Linked DNA regions of Homo sapiens: all the other regions are linked to region 4. The links are contacts of gene promoters, found by promoter capture Hi-C in blood cells and fetal thymus (Javierre and others, 2016). All regions are on one chromosome and are shown on one strand. Each heading gives the region's core, a stretch centred on a gene start or on the middle of the fragment in contact. The rest is flanking DNA. Distances are from core to core; before and after follow the strand shown. Region 1 overlaps SRPK2 (SRSF protein kinase 2). Region 2 overlaps SRPK2 (SRSF protein kinase 2). Region 3 overlaps SRPK2 (SRSF protein kinase 2). Region 4 holds the start of PUS7 (pseudouridine synthase 7).

Region 1 (3,372 bases), core at 32-2,531, 330 kb before region 4:
CATTCCCACCAGCAGTGTAGAAGTGTTCCCTTTTCACTGCATCCATGCTAACATCTATTATTTTTTGATTTTTTGATTATGGACATTCTTGCAGGAGTAAAGTGGTATTGCATTGTGATTTTGATTTGCATTTCCCTGATCATTAGTGATGTTGAGCATTTTTTCATAGTCTATTGGCCATCTGTATATCTTCTTTGGAGAACTGTCTATTCATGTCCTTAGCCCACTTTTTCATGGGATTTTTTTTTCCTTGCTAATTTGAGTTCATTGTAGTTTCTGGATATTAGTCCTTTGTCGGATGTATAGATTGTGAAGATTTTCTCCTACGCTTTCGGTTGTCTGTTTACTCTGCTGACTCTTCCTTTTGCTGTGTAAAAGCTCTTTAGTTTAATTAAGTTCCAGGTATTTAACTTTGTTTTGATCACATTTGCATTTAGGTTCTTGATCATGAAATCCTTGCCTAAGCCAATGTCTAGAAGGATTTTTCCGATGTTACCTTCTAATAATGTTTATAGTTTCAGGTCTTAGATTTAAGTCCTTGATCCATCTTGAGTTGATTTTTGTTTAAGGTATGAAATGAGGATCCAGTTTCATTCTCTTACAGATGGCTTGCCAGTTTTCCCAGCACCATTTGTTGAATAGGGTGTCTGTTCCCTTTTTTGTTTGCTTTGTCAAAGATCAGTTGGCTGTAAGTATTTGGGTTTATTTCTCAGTTCTCTATTCTGTTCCACTGGTCTATGTGCCTATTTTTATACCAGTACCATGCTGTTTTGGTGACTGTGCTCTTACAGTACAGTTTGAAATCAGGTAATGTGATGCCTTCAAATTTTCTCTTTTTGCTTAGTCTTGCTTTGACTATGCAGACTCTTTTTCGGTTCCATGTGAATTTTAGGATGGTTTTTTCTAGTTCTGTGAAGAATGACGGTAGTACTTTGATGGGAATTGCACCGAATTTGTAGACTGCTTTCGGCAGTATGGTCATTTTCGCAATACTGATTCTACCCACCTATGAGCATGGGATGTGTTTCCATTTGTTTGTGTCGTCTATGATTTCTTTCAGCAGTAAAAGCACATATTCTTCTGTATTTACAAAGAAATATATGCTCAATGCAGAAAACAAAGAAAACCAATACAAAGAGGTAAAGAAGACAAAAACCAAAACCCTACAATCCAGATGTAACTAGCTACTATCAATGTTTTTTAAAATTCAGATATTTACATGCAATGAAAGTCAAAGGTTTTATGTGTACGATTCCCTGCTTTTTGACAAATACATATACTCTAATCAATATACAGAACATTTTTCCAAAATCTCACTCTTGAAGTTCCCTCCCAGTCACATTCTTTGTCAGGTAAATGTATTGCAAAGAGCTTCTCCCAGTCTGAAGCTGGTCTTTTCATTTTTAAAAATGTCTTTTAATCAGGAACAGTTTTTAATTTTGATTAAGTCTAATTAATTTTTTATTTTATAGTTAATGTTTCTTATATGCTCTCTAATAAATCCTTCCCTACTCCCAAGGTTGTGAAGATATTCTCTTACTTTTTGCTAGAAACTTTACAGTTTTAACTTTATATTTAAATATATGATCCATCTCAACCTGATAAAGGTATCTAAAAAAAAACTACATATTCACTGTAAGATTAGAAACAAGACAAGGGAGATGTCTATTCTTACCACTTCTATTCAACCTCATGCATAAAAGAATGAGGCAAAAAAGAATAATAATTTATAAAGAATCATAAGGAAGAAGAAAAACCTCCATTTGCCCTGAAATGATGAAATGATTGTGTGTAGAGAAAACCTAGAGAAATTTACACATGCACAAACACTAATAAATAAGCAAACAGCATAGTTACAGGCCACGTGGTTGGTGCATAAGAATCAGTTACATTTCTATAACCCATCAAAACCACACCAAAAACTACAAAACATTTCTGAGAACAATAAAGACCTAAATAAACAGACACAATACCATGTTAATGGGTTGGAAGATTCAATATTATTAAGGCGTATCTAAAATTTATATGTATAAGCTGACTCTGAATTTATACAAAATGCAAAGGATCGAGACAGGTCAAAACAATCCTGGAAGAGAAGCACAAAGCTGGAAGACTGACACTACCCATTCAAGGCATGCTATACAAAGCTATAGTAACCAGACCTTTAGAGCAAGCATTGACCAAAAGAGGGATGGAGCAGATGGAGTCCACAAACAAACCCCCATACATTCTGTCTACTGATGGACAAAGGCAAGCAACTGAATAGGTGGGGGAACAAGTCTTCTCGATAAATGGTGCTGCAGCAACAAGATAAAAGTATATTTCAAAAAAACACCTCAGGCCTACCACATACTGCTGACATTTTGGCACTGCTCTTTTGCTAAATATATTTTTATTTTTTGTTTTTATTTTTTTGAGACAGAGTCTCGTTCTATCGCCCAGGCTGGAGTGCAGTGGCGCAATCTCAACTCATTGCAACCTCCGCCTCCCACGTTGAAGTGATTCTCCTGCCTCCGCCTCCCGAGGAGCTGGGACTACAGGCGCGTGCCACCGTGCCCGGCTAATTTTTTGTATCTTTAGTAGAGACAGGGCTTCGATATGTTGGCCAGGATGGCCTCAATCTCCTGACCTCGTGATCTGCCCACCTCGGCCTCCCAAAGTGCTGGGATTACAGGCGTGGGCCACCATGCCCGGCCTGCTAAATATGTTTTGTAAAAAGAGGAGAGATTATAACACCAGGATTCTGTTTCTACTCTGCTTTCTTTCGGTTTTCTGTGGGGATTTTTGGTAATATTTTGAAGTGATGCTTTAAAGTTACTTCACCACAAATTTCTCACACTCATCTCTATCCTCTACATGATGCTCCCAAACTGCTTTTAAACCTAATCTTCTACCATCAATTTTTAGTTTCCCCATTTGTTAGGAAAACACAAGCAGTTAGGGCTTCTTACACCTTGTTCTGCCTCCAGGATTTAGTCTGAGTAGTGCCCCATACTCTCAACATCATCCAAATATTCTTTACTGACAAAGTCCCTTTCAGTTTTTTATAACATCTTTTCTGAGTCCTCTATTCAAATATAACATTCTTCCTTTTAGCCCTCACATATCTTCCCTTTTCTCACTTATTATTAACGAACCACACTTAGATGAAAAAAAAGATATTTGAGCAGTCTATTCATTCAGTCACTATTCAGCAGGCCACAGATTGTTCTACTGGGGTGCCAGGGAAGCTAGACAGGTCAAGGCTCTGCCCTTAAGTAGCTGGCATTCTAGTGGCAAAGTCTAAGAGGCCATAATCTAGAAAGTAGGGCTGTTTCTCATTTACCTCTATGTGCCCTGTAGTAAAGTACAACGTTTTGCACATCATCAAGC
Region 2 (3,164 bases), core at 419-2,918, 370 kb before region 4:
CATGGGTTCCCTTATACACAGATTGTCTTCCACCTCTGCCACTCCTGAGACAGCAAGACCAACCCCTCAGCCTACTCAACGCGAAGATAATGAGGATGAAGACCTTTATGATCATCTACTTCATATGATCTATCCACTTAATGAATAGTAAGTATATTTTCTCTTCTTTATGATTGTCTTAACATTCTTTTCTCTAGCTTACTTTGTTGTAAAAATATGCTATATAACACACATACAAAATACATGTTAATTGGTCATGTGATCATTAAGGATTCTGATCAACAGTAGGCTAGTAATTCATGTATCATACAATTGACCCCTTTAGGTATACAATTCAATGGATTTTAGATGTGCGACTATCATTACTATTTATTTTTTAAATTTTTTATGTATTTATTTTTTGAGACAGAGTCTCGCTCTGTCACCCAGGCTGGAGTGCAGTGGCACAATCTTGGCTCACTGCAACCTCCGCCTCCCAGGTTCAAGCAATTCTCCTGCCTCAGCCTCCCAAGCAGCTGGGATTACAGGCGTATGCCACCACGCCTGGCTAATTTTTTTTGTATTTTTAGTAGAGACGGGGTTTTACCATATTGGCCAGTGGTCTCGAACTCCTGACCTTGTGATCCACCTGTCTCGACCTCCCAAAGTACTGGGATTACAGGCGTGAGCCACCACACACGGCAACTACCACCACTATTTAAATGACAACATTTTCATTGCTCCAAAAAGAAACAACATATTCATCAGCATTCACTTCCCATCTCTCTCCTACCCCTTCTAACCCTTAGCAACCACTAATCTACTTGCTGATTCTGGACATTTCCTATAAATGGAATCATATAAAGTATTTTTTTGTAACTGGCATAATGTTTTCAAGTTTGACTCTTGTGCAGCATGTATTAGTACTTCGCTTATTCTTATTGGCAAACAGTATTCCACTGTATGGAGATACAACATTGTGTTTATCCCTTCACCTCATGAACATTTGGGTTATTTTCACTTTAGGGGCTATAAAAATAATACTGCTATTCACACTCGTGTATACATTTTTGTGTGAACATACTTTTTTTGAGGGGAGGTATATACCTAGGAGTTACCGTACTTAGGTCATATGGTGCCTCTATATTTAGCTTTTTGATGAACTGCCAAAGTGTCTTCCACAGTGGCTGCACCATTTTACATTCCTATCACCAATGTATGAGGGTTCCAATTCTTCGCCCTGAACAACACTTACTATCGTTTTTTACTTTATCCACCCAAGTGGATATGAAGTATCTTGTTGTAGTTTTGATCTACATTTCCCTGATGGCTAATGATGTCCATACATTTTTAACACTGCAAGAGAAGGGGGGCTTGATTTAAATAGAAAATAGCCTTGGTATCTAGACAACCCTACAGCATTATACTAAAAGAAAGTGATGAACCAAGATATTCATATTTCTCATATTAAAACAATCAAAAACTTACAGTGTCAGTGACCTAAATACAAGGTCAGTGTTTTTCTATAATTATTTCCACTGGAGAATAATTTTTTCAATTATTTCCATAAACAAAATTTATTTTTACAAAACAGATCATGTTCTCATATAAGCATTAGAAATTCCAAATGTTAAGCAAATATTACATCAATGACCATTCAAACAATGAATTGAATAGGCATTTTGTTCACAAGAGACAGGAAGTGTTATATGTTTCACATCATCCAATGTAGGGAAAAGAGAGATCCGACTGTTACTGTGTCTATGTAGAAAGGAAAGACATAAGAGACTCCATTTTGAAAAAGACCTGTACTTTAAACAACTGCTTTGCTGAGATGTTGTTAATTTGTAGCTTTGCCCCAGCCACTTTGCTCCAGCCACTTTGACCCAACCTGGAGCTCACAAAAACATGTGTTATATGAAATCAAGGTTTAAGGGATCCAGGGCTCTGCAGGACATGCCTTGTTAACAAAATGTTTACAAGCAGTATACTTGGTAAAAGTCATCGCCATTCTCTAGTCTCAATAAACCAGGGGCACAATGCACTGTGGAAAGCTGCAGGGACCTCTGCCCTTGAAAGCTGGGTATTGTCCAAGGTTTCTCCCCATGTGATAGTCTGAAATATGGCCTCGTGGGATGAGAAAGACCTGACCGTCCCCCAGCCCAACACCCATAAAGGGTCTGTGCTGAGATGGATTAGTAAAAGAGGAAAGCCTCTTGCAGTTGAGATAGAGGAAGGCCACTGTCTCCTGCCTGCCCCTGGGAACTGAATGTCTCGGTATAAAACCCGATTATACATTTGTTCAATTCTCAGATGAGAGAAAAACCGCCCTATGGTGGGAGGTGAGACATGTTTGCAGTAATGCTGCCTTGTTATTCTTTACTCCACTAAGATGTTTGGGTGGAGAGAAACATAAATCTGGTGTACGTGCACGTCCAGTCATAGTACCTTCCCTTGAACTTAATTATGACATAGATTCTATTGCTCACGTGTTTGTTGCTGACCTTCTCCTTATTATCACCCTGCCCTCCTACTACATTCCTTTTTGCTGAAATAATGAAGATAATAATCAATAAAAACTGAGGGAACTCAGAGACCGGTGCCGGTGCAGGTCCTTGGTATGCTGGGCGCCAGTCCCCTGGGCCCACTGTTGTTTCTCTATACTTTGTCTCTGTGTCTTATTTCTTTTCTCAGTCTCTCGTCCCACCCGACTAGAAATACCCACAGGTGTGGAGGGGCAGGCCACTCCTTCAATCCAACACTGAAATATTCCCAGTTTAATCGACAGTGGAAGGCATCTGATCAACAGTAAGCTATTAGTAGTTAGCCTACTGTTAGTAGAAGTTAAAGTAGCATTATGAAGTGAGAGGGAACAAAGATTTTACAAGGAAAATGAAAACAGGAATACCTCTTAAAAACGATCAAAATCCCTACAAACATTTAAAACAACTTTACCTTACAGAGTATTTTTACATAAATTCACTGAATGTGCATCGCCTGAGCTCCTATCACATGCCATTATTCCAGGTGTTTGATATATAAAAGCTCCCAGGCTTCATGTTGCTTACAGTCCTCATATCCTCACAGAGGTTACCAATTCAGGACAGGAAATGAGTATGACGGGTGGGGTAATTGGCCAAAAAAAAAACCAAGATGAATCATGGGCATGGCAAATATGATTTAAT
Region 3 (3,562 bases), core at 128-2,627, 350 kb before region 4:
CAAGAACACAGGAGTTTGAGACAAAGCATGTTTTCCCATTATAACACCAATACTGTTTAAATAAAAGTATATTTTAAAATAAAAAATTCATCACAAAGTTATAAAAAATAAACTTTATTTATTTATTTATTTATTTATTTTTTGAGACAGAGTCTTGCTCTATCGCCCAGTCTGGAGTGCAGTGGTACGATCTCGGCTCACTGCAACCTCTGCCTCCCAGGTTCAAGTGATACTCATGCCTCAGCCTCCCAAGGAGCTGAGATTACAGGTGCCCACCACCATGCCTGGCTATTTTTTATATTTTTAGCAGAGATGGGGTTTCACCGTGTTTGCCAGGCTGGTCTCGAACTCTTGACCTCAAGTGATCTGCTCGCTTTGGCCTCCCAAAGTGCTGAGATTATAGGCATGAGCCACCGTGCCCAGCCAAACTTGACTTTAATTTAGTATTACCCAGAAAAATCTTTCTGTAAAATTTTAAGTCATTAAGTTTTCTTATATCATTCACATTTTTAAAGTACTTACACATTTGAGCAATTTTATTTCATCCAAGGCTGTCTCCGTATAATGCTGGGCACTTTTTACAACTTTCATTGCAACAAATCTTTTCCCCCTAAAAGAAAAAACAAAAAAAGAGTCTATTTATCTATATTATCAGTAGAAAGAATCACTGGTATCCAGGTTGAGCATCCCTAATTGGAAAATGTAAAATCCAAAATGCGCCAAAACCTAAAACATTATGAGTGTGTCAACACGATGCCACAGTGTAAAATTCCACCTCTGACTGCAATCAAAACTCAGTAAAAGATTTGCATGTTGCACAAGATTATTTAAAATATCGTATAAAATTGCCTTCAGGGTATGTGTATATGGTGTATATGAAATATAATGAATTTTGTGTTTAGATCTGGGTCACATCTCCAAGATAGGTCATTGTGTATATACACAAATATTCCAAAATCCAAAACACTTCTGGTCTCAAAGCATTTCAGATAAGGGATATTCAACTTGTAATGAGATCTATCCAATACACAGAAACATAAGCTTTCCTTTAAAATAGTACTTTTCAAATGGTGGGGCCACATTAAATAGTAGTATGGGTCAAGACAATCTCTTTTATGTTTTGTTTTGTTTTTTCCCTAATTAAAATAAGACTAGATAAACATCAGAGTTATCACGAATATTACACACCAACCTAATAGTGAAAACCATTCTCTTTTAACACTTTTGTTTCAGTACACACACACACACACACGCACCAAATGTGTGTGTGTGTGTGTGTGTGTGTGTGTGTGTGTGTATGGAGTAGCAATGAAGTTTCTTACTATGGGTCATGGCTTTGAAAAGTTAAAAATGACTGATTTGAAACGCCTATACTATACATTATGTTTGTCTGATATGGATGAATTACTAGAAAAATAATATAATCCCAGTGTAAAACAATTTCAATGAATTAACTTTGAAATAAAGCTGGAAGCAAGTAATATTTTAAGATTTCAAATGAACTTCAAACTAAGGCAGGGGGCAGGAAGGAATCTAGCCAGCTGAGGCAGGCCTGTGCTAAGCACTTCACATACCTCAACAAAGCAGTGGTGACCCTCAGCCATACCTTCTTAGAACACAGATGTTGAACTACTCCAGGAAACAAATGCACAAATGACAAAGAACACTTACTGCATATCCCAGCACAGCCAGACAGTAGAGAAGTGCCCCCATCCAAGCTTTCTAATAACATGATACCGGCCATTGAAGAGGTCTCCAATTTTCACTGGATGATATCCACCTTAAAAAACAAGAAAGAAAGAAAAAAATTCAAAATATTCGAAAAGTAGTAATAAACATTTCATCTCTTTTGTCATTCTTGATGTCATTAAAGAAAGCTCTACATAATACATGCAGACTAAAACATGTTTAATAATACAACATTTTTTTCAGGAATATCTTTCAACAAGAAAAAGTGTTGGCTGGATGTGGTGGCTTACACCTGTAATCTCAGCACTTTGGGAGGCCAAGGCAGGTGGATCATTTCAGATCAGGAGTACGAGACCAGCCTGGCCAACATGGTGAAATCCAGTCTCTACGAAAAATACAAAAATCAGCAGGGCATGGTGGCGAGCACCTGTAATCCCAGCTACTTAGGAGGCTGAGGGGAGAGAATCACTTGAAACTGGGAGGTGGAGGCTGCAATGAGCCTGAGTGAAAAGTGTGCGACTGCAATCCAGACAGCCTGACCAAAAAGTGTTCTATGAATTCCTATTAGACTTCTTGTTTTAATTTAATTTAAAGAGGCAATGAACCATCTAGCACACCGTAATGATAACTTGAGGTTCTCTATTTACTTATTTATTTTTAAGACAGGGTCTCACTCTGTTGTCTAGACTGGAGTGCAATGGCATGATCTCAGCTCAATGCAACCTCTGATTCCCAGGCTGAAGAGGTCCTCCCACCTCAGCCTCCCAGGTAGCTGGAACTACAGGCACACACCACCATGCCCAGCTAATTTTTGTATTTTTTGTAGGGACAGGGTTTCACCACATTACCCAGGTTGGTCTTGAACTCCTAGGCTCAAACAATCCGCACATCTCCCCTCCCAAAGTGCTGGGATTATAGGCATGAGCCACCACACCTGGCCAAGGTTCTGTATTTCAATCTAGGTGTGTACGTTATGCACATACCAGCTCTTGGTATTTAAAGACTTTTTTTCTCCTAAACAAGTTAAATTCAAATCTTTTTGGATATGTGCAAGAAAACTGACCAAAATAAACAATGTTTACTCTGTATAATTCTGCATACATTAATGGTTTATTAATAACTAGAAACTGTACAATGATGTCTTAATTTACCCTCTAACAGGGCTTGTTCCTCTCATCACTCTTCTGCCAACTCCTAACTCCTGCCTGGAAACATTCCTCACAAATGAAGAAATGAGGCCGGGCACGGTGGCTCACACCTGTAATCCCAGCACTTTGGGAGGCCAAGGCGGGCAGATCACCTGAGGTCTGGAGTTCAAGACCAGCCTGGCCAACACGGTGAAACCCCATCTCTACTAAAAATACAAAAAATTAGTCAGGTGTGCTGGCGAACTCCTGTAATCCCAGCTACTCGGGAGGCTGATGAAGAAGAATTGCTTGAACCCAGGAAGCAGAGGTTACAGTGAGCCAAGATCAAGCCACTGCACTCCAGCCTGGGTTACAGAGTGAGACTCCACCAAGAAAGACAAGAAAGACAAGAAAGAAAGAAAAGGAAAGAAAGGGAAGAAAGGGAGGAAGGAAGGAAGGAAGGAAGGAAGGAAGGAAGGACGGGAGGGAGGGAGGGAGGGAGGGAGAGAGAGAGGGAGAGAAAGAGAAAGAAAGGAAGAAAGAAAGAAAGAAAGAAAGAAAGAAAGAAAGAAAGAAAGAAAGAAAGAAAGAAAGAAAGAAAGAAAGAAAGAAAGGAGAAAGAAAAAGAAAAAGGAAAGAAAGAAAGAAAGAAAGAAAGAAAGAAAGAGAAAGAAAGAGAAAGAAAGAAAGAAAGAGAAAGAAAGAAAGAAAGAGAGGAAGGAAGGAAGGAAGGAAGGAAAGGCAGG
Region 4 (3,118 bases), core at 175-2,674:
GGGCAACACAGCGAGACCCTGTGTGGTGGCACATGCCTATAGTCCCAGCTACTTGGGAGGCTGAGGTGAGAGGATTGCTTGAGCCCAGGAGTTCAAGGCTGCAGTGAGCGATGATCACGCAACTGCACTCCAGCCTGGGCAACAAGAGCAAAATTCTGTCTCAAAAAAATTAAAAAAATAAAAATAAAAAAACCAAAAACATGTTCACAAGGAGTTGTTAAGTACGTACTGTTGGCTACTTTCCTAATGTTTGAACCTAACAATTGCCTAACCAACCCCTTTTCAATAGTGTTGTACAGTCTGATTTTCGACAGATCCCTCAATAGTCGAGGCTCCCCCAGGCCAATGGGGCATAGTCATTTCATAGATGATTAGAGGCTTGGGGATGGGGGGGAGGGAACCTTAGTAACCCTTTATTTTTGGAATGGAAAAAAAAAGTAGTCTGACGGGACCAAATATTTTAAAAACTAAACTCTTTGCCAACCCTACTCGGCAGGCAACGAAGGTGTGCTTCTAAACACCTCTGCGCAGGGCTGACGAGGAGGACTCGAATTTCAGCTTGCACAGCAGCACCTCCATCCACTCGTTAAGCATTCACCCAGCTTGAGGGCTGGAGAAAGCACTCTGAGTCTGCAGCCCGTCCACTCCTACTCTGGGAAATGCATACAAAGCAAGCAGTCCCCAGAGCCCGCGTGGCGCCTAGTAGGCTCCCAGTGAGCGGCGACGCAGGACACAGGGGTGGAACACGTGGGCTGGACCCACAGAAGGCAGGCGCGGCGAAGCAGTGGCACCGTGAAGGGCTTCAGGGCCAGTGTTCCTCTGACGGAGGGACAAGAGTTTAGGGAGCGTCCGGGGCAAAGAAAGGGAGGAGTGGGAAGGGGGCCCCCGGGGGACAGCGCCGCGCGGGGAGGAGGGGAGCGCTCGGGCGCGGCGCCTCCGGACGACTGGCCGGGCAGAGCGGAGCGGGGAGCGGGGAGCGGAGAGCGGCGCCTGCACCGCCGAAGCGCAGGACCCACTGGGTTCCAACCGTGCTCCCGCTGGCACGATCCATAATGGAGGCGCCGCGGGCTCTGACCACTGCGGGGCCGCCTTCCCAGTCCGCCTTCCCAGTCCGCACTGCCTCTTGGGGCGGGGCCCTGGGGCTGGGGCTGGGGCCAGGGCCAGGCCGAGGAGCCCCGGCGGCCGCGGGGAGGCCGCGCACTTACCCGGAGCCTGGGAGCGCGGGCGCGGCGTGAGCTGGGCGGCGAGGTGGCCAGCGCTCTGGTTGGGACGCAAGAGAGCGGCGAAGGCCACTTGGATGAGCCAGCGGCTAGGGCGGCCAGGCAAAAGCAGCGCTTTCCGCGCGGAGGACCAGATGCGCTCCAGCCGACTCACCGGCGGCCGGGCTCGCACACGTGCGGCGCAGCGACGCGCCGCGGCCCGACTGGACCCGCCCCGGGGGCGGAGTCCGCTCCCTGCCGCCGGCCCCGCCCCCGGCCCACCCACTCGGAGCGGCCTGCAAGCCAGGGAGCGCCCCAACGCGGACTCCCAGCCTACGCGCGTTCACCCTGGACCTTCCTCGCGACCGCGCCTGAGTCGCACCAGCGGCAGAGAGCGATTTCACCAAGCATCTAAGAGTTCTTTAGATCTTTAGGAAGTCTAAGGCAGCGATTGCCTCCTTTGGTGTTATATTCTAAGTGTTTCCTTCACATAGTTGTGGCCCTTTCACGTTGCACCGACCACGCAGTTGACAATAATGGAAAGAGAATCACTTTAGGGACTAAATATTGTTCTACATTTGATCCTGGGAATGTAGTGGATCTAAAAGCACCATCTTCCTACTTCTTACCGCTCTGGCTTGATGGCTTGCCATAGGATCTGCTTCAAGAAACCGGATCATAGGTTTTTTTTGTTTTGGTTTGGTTTGGTTTTGACAGAGTCTCGCTCTGTCGCACAGGCTGGAGTGCGGTGGCGTGAACACAGTTCACTGCAGCCTCGACCTCCCAGGCTCAAGCAATCCTCCCACTTCAGTATCCCAAGTAGCTGGGACTACAGGTGCATCCCACCGCACCCAGGCTAATTTTTTTGGGGGTGGGGGGTAGAGACAAGATTTCACTATGTTGCCCAGGCTCTAATAGTTTTTTTGCTTTTTGTTTGTTTGTTTGTTTTTTGAGACGGAGTCTTGCTCTGTCGCCCAGGCTGGAGTGCAATGGCGCGATCGCTGCTCACCGCAACCTCCGCCACCCGGGTTCAAGCGATTCTCCTGCCTCAGCCTCCCGAGTAGCTGGGATTACTGGCGCACGCCACCATGCCCGGCTTATTTTTTGTATTTTTAGTAGAGTACGGGGTTTCACTATGTTGGCCAGGCTGGTCTCGAACTCTTGACTTCGTGATCCGCCCGCCTCCGCCTCTGTGTTGAGATTACAGGCGTGAGCCACCGCTCCCAGCCTCTAATAGTTTTTCCGTTTTGTTTTATTTTGTTTGAGAGAGAGTCTCACTCTGTTGCAGGGTTCAAGCGATTCTCCTGCATCAGCCTCCCGAGTAGCTGGGCCTACGAGTGCTTGACATCATGCCAGACTAATTTTTTTGACGGGGTTTTTGCCTGTTGGCCTTGAACTCCTGACCTCAAGTGATTTGCCTGCCTAGGCCTCCCAAAGTACTGGGATTATAGGCATGAGCCACCATGCCCTGCCCAATTTGTTTTTTTGTTTTGTTTTTTACACAATGAAATATACTATTACCGGCCGGGCGCAGTGGCTCACGCCTGTAATCCCAGCACTTTGGGAGGCCGAGGTGGGCGGATCATGAGGTCAGGAGTTTGAGACCAGCCTGGCCAACATGGTGAAACCCCGTCTCTACTAAAAATACAAAAAATTACCCAGACGTGGTGGCACGCGCCTGTAATCCCAGCTACTTGGGAGGCTGAGGCAGGAGAATCGCTTGAACTCAGGAGGCGGAGGTTGCAGTGAGCTGAGATCGCACCATTGCACTCTAGCTTGGGCAACAAGATGGAAACTCTGTCTCAAAAAAAAAAAAAGAAATATATTATTACCATACAATTCAGCAATTACACTCCTTGATATTTACCTAAAGGAGTTGAAAACTATGTTCACACAAAAACCTGCACAAGTATGTTTAT

The links. Contacts are between HindIII fragments. The CHiCAGO score rates a contact against its expected background, and 5 or more counts as called.
Region 1: a fragment that was not itself captured here is called in contact with the fragment with the promoter of PUS7 in region 4 in 1 of 17 cell types (neutrophils); the score reaches 7.7 in neutrophils.
Region 2: a fragment that was not itself captured here is called in contact with the fragment with the promoter of PUS7 in region 4 in 2 of 17 cell types (naive B cells and total B cells); the score reaches 7.7 in naive B cells.
Region 3: a fragment that was not itself captured here is called in contact with the fragment with the promoter of PUS7 in region 4 in 1 of 17 cell types (naive B cells); the score reaches 5.4 in naive B cells.

The regions. Positions count from the first base shown.
Region 1 is chr7:105,192,653-105,196,024 of GRCh38, forward strand. All of the region lies in intron 3 of SRPK2 (SRSF protein kinase 2), which reads right to left. It overlaps LOC124901718 (a long non-coding RNA gene), which reads right to left. Exons shown (of 2, transcript XR_007060466.1): 2 at 1-3,372. Among named protein-coding and RNA genes, the nearest start is that of KMT2E, 180 kb to the left of the region's middle. The HindIII fragment of the contact is 4,264 bases long and covers 1-3,372 here.
Region 2 is chr7:105,146,934-105,150,097 of GRCh38, forward strand. The region is part of intron 7 of SRPK2 (SRSF protein kinase 2); the gene reads right to left. Among named protein-coding and RNA genes, the nearest start is that of KMT2E, 130 kb to the left of the region's middle. The HindIII fragment of the contact is 5,598 bases long and covers 1-3,164 here.
Region 3 is chr7:105,167,486-105,171,047 of GRCh38, forward strand. It overlaps SRPK2 (SRSF protein kinase 2), which reads right to left. Exons shown (of 16, transcript NM_182692.3): 4 at 1,672-1,780; 5 at 523-610. Among named protein-coding and RNA genes, the nearest start is that of KMT2E, 160 kb to the left of the region's middle. The HindIII fragment of the contact is 677 bases long and covers 1,040-1,716 here.
Region 4 is chr7:105,520,847-105,523,964 of GRCh38, forward strand. PUS7 (pseudouridine synthase 7) reads right to left here and starts at 1,425. Exons shown (of 16, transcript NM_019042.5): 1 at 1,206-1,425. RefSeq lists enhancers at 252-906, 2,190-2,690 and silencers at 449-594, 804-1,553. The HindIII fragment of the contact is 10,027 bases long and covers 1-3,118 here.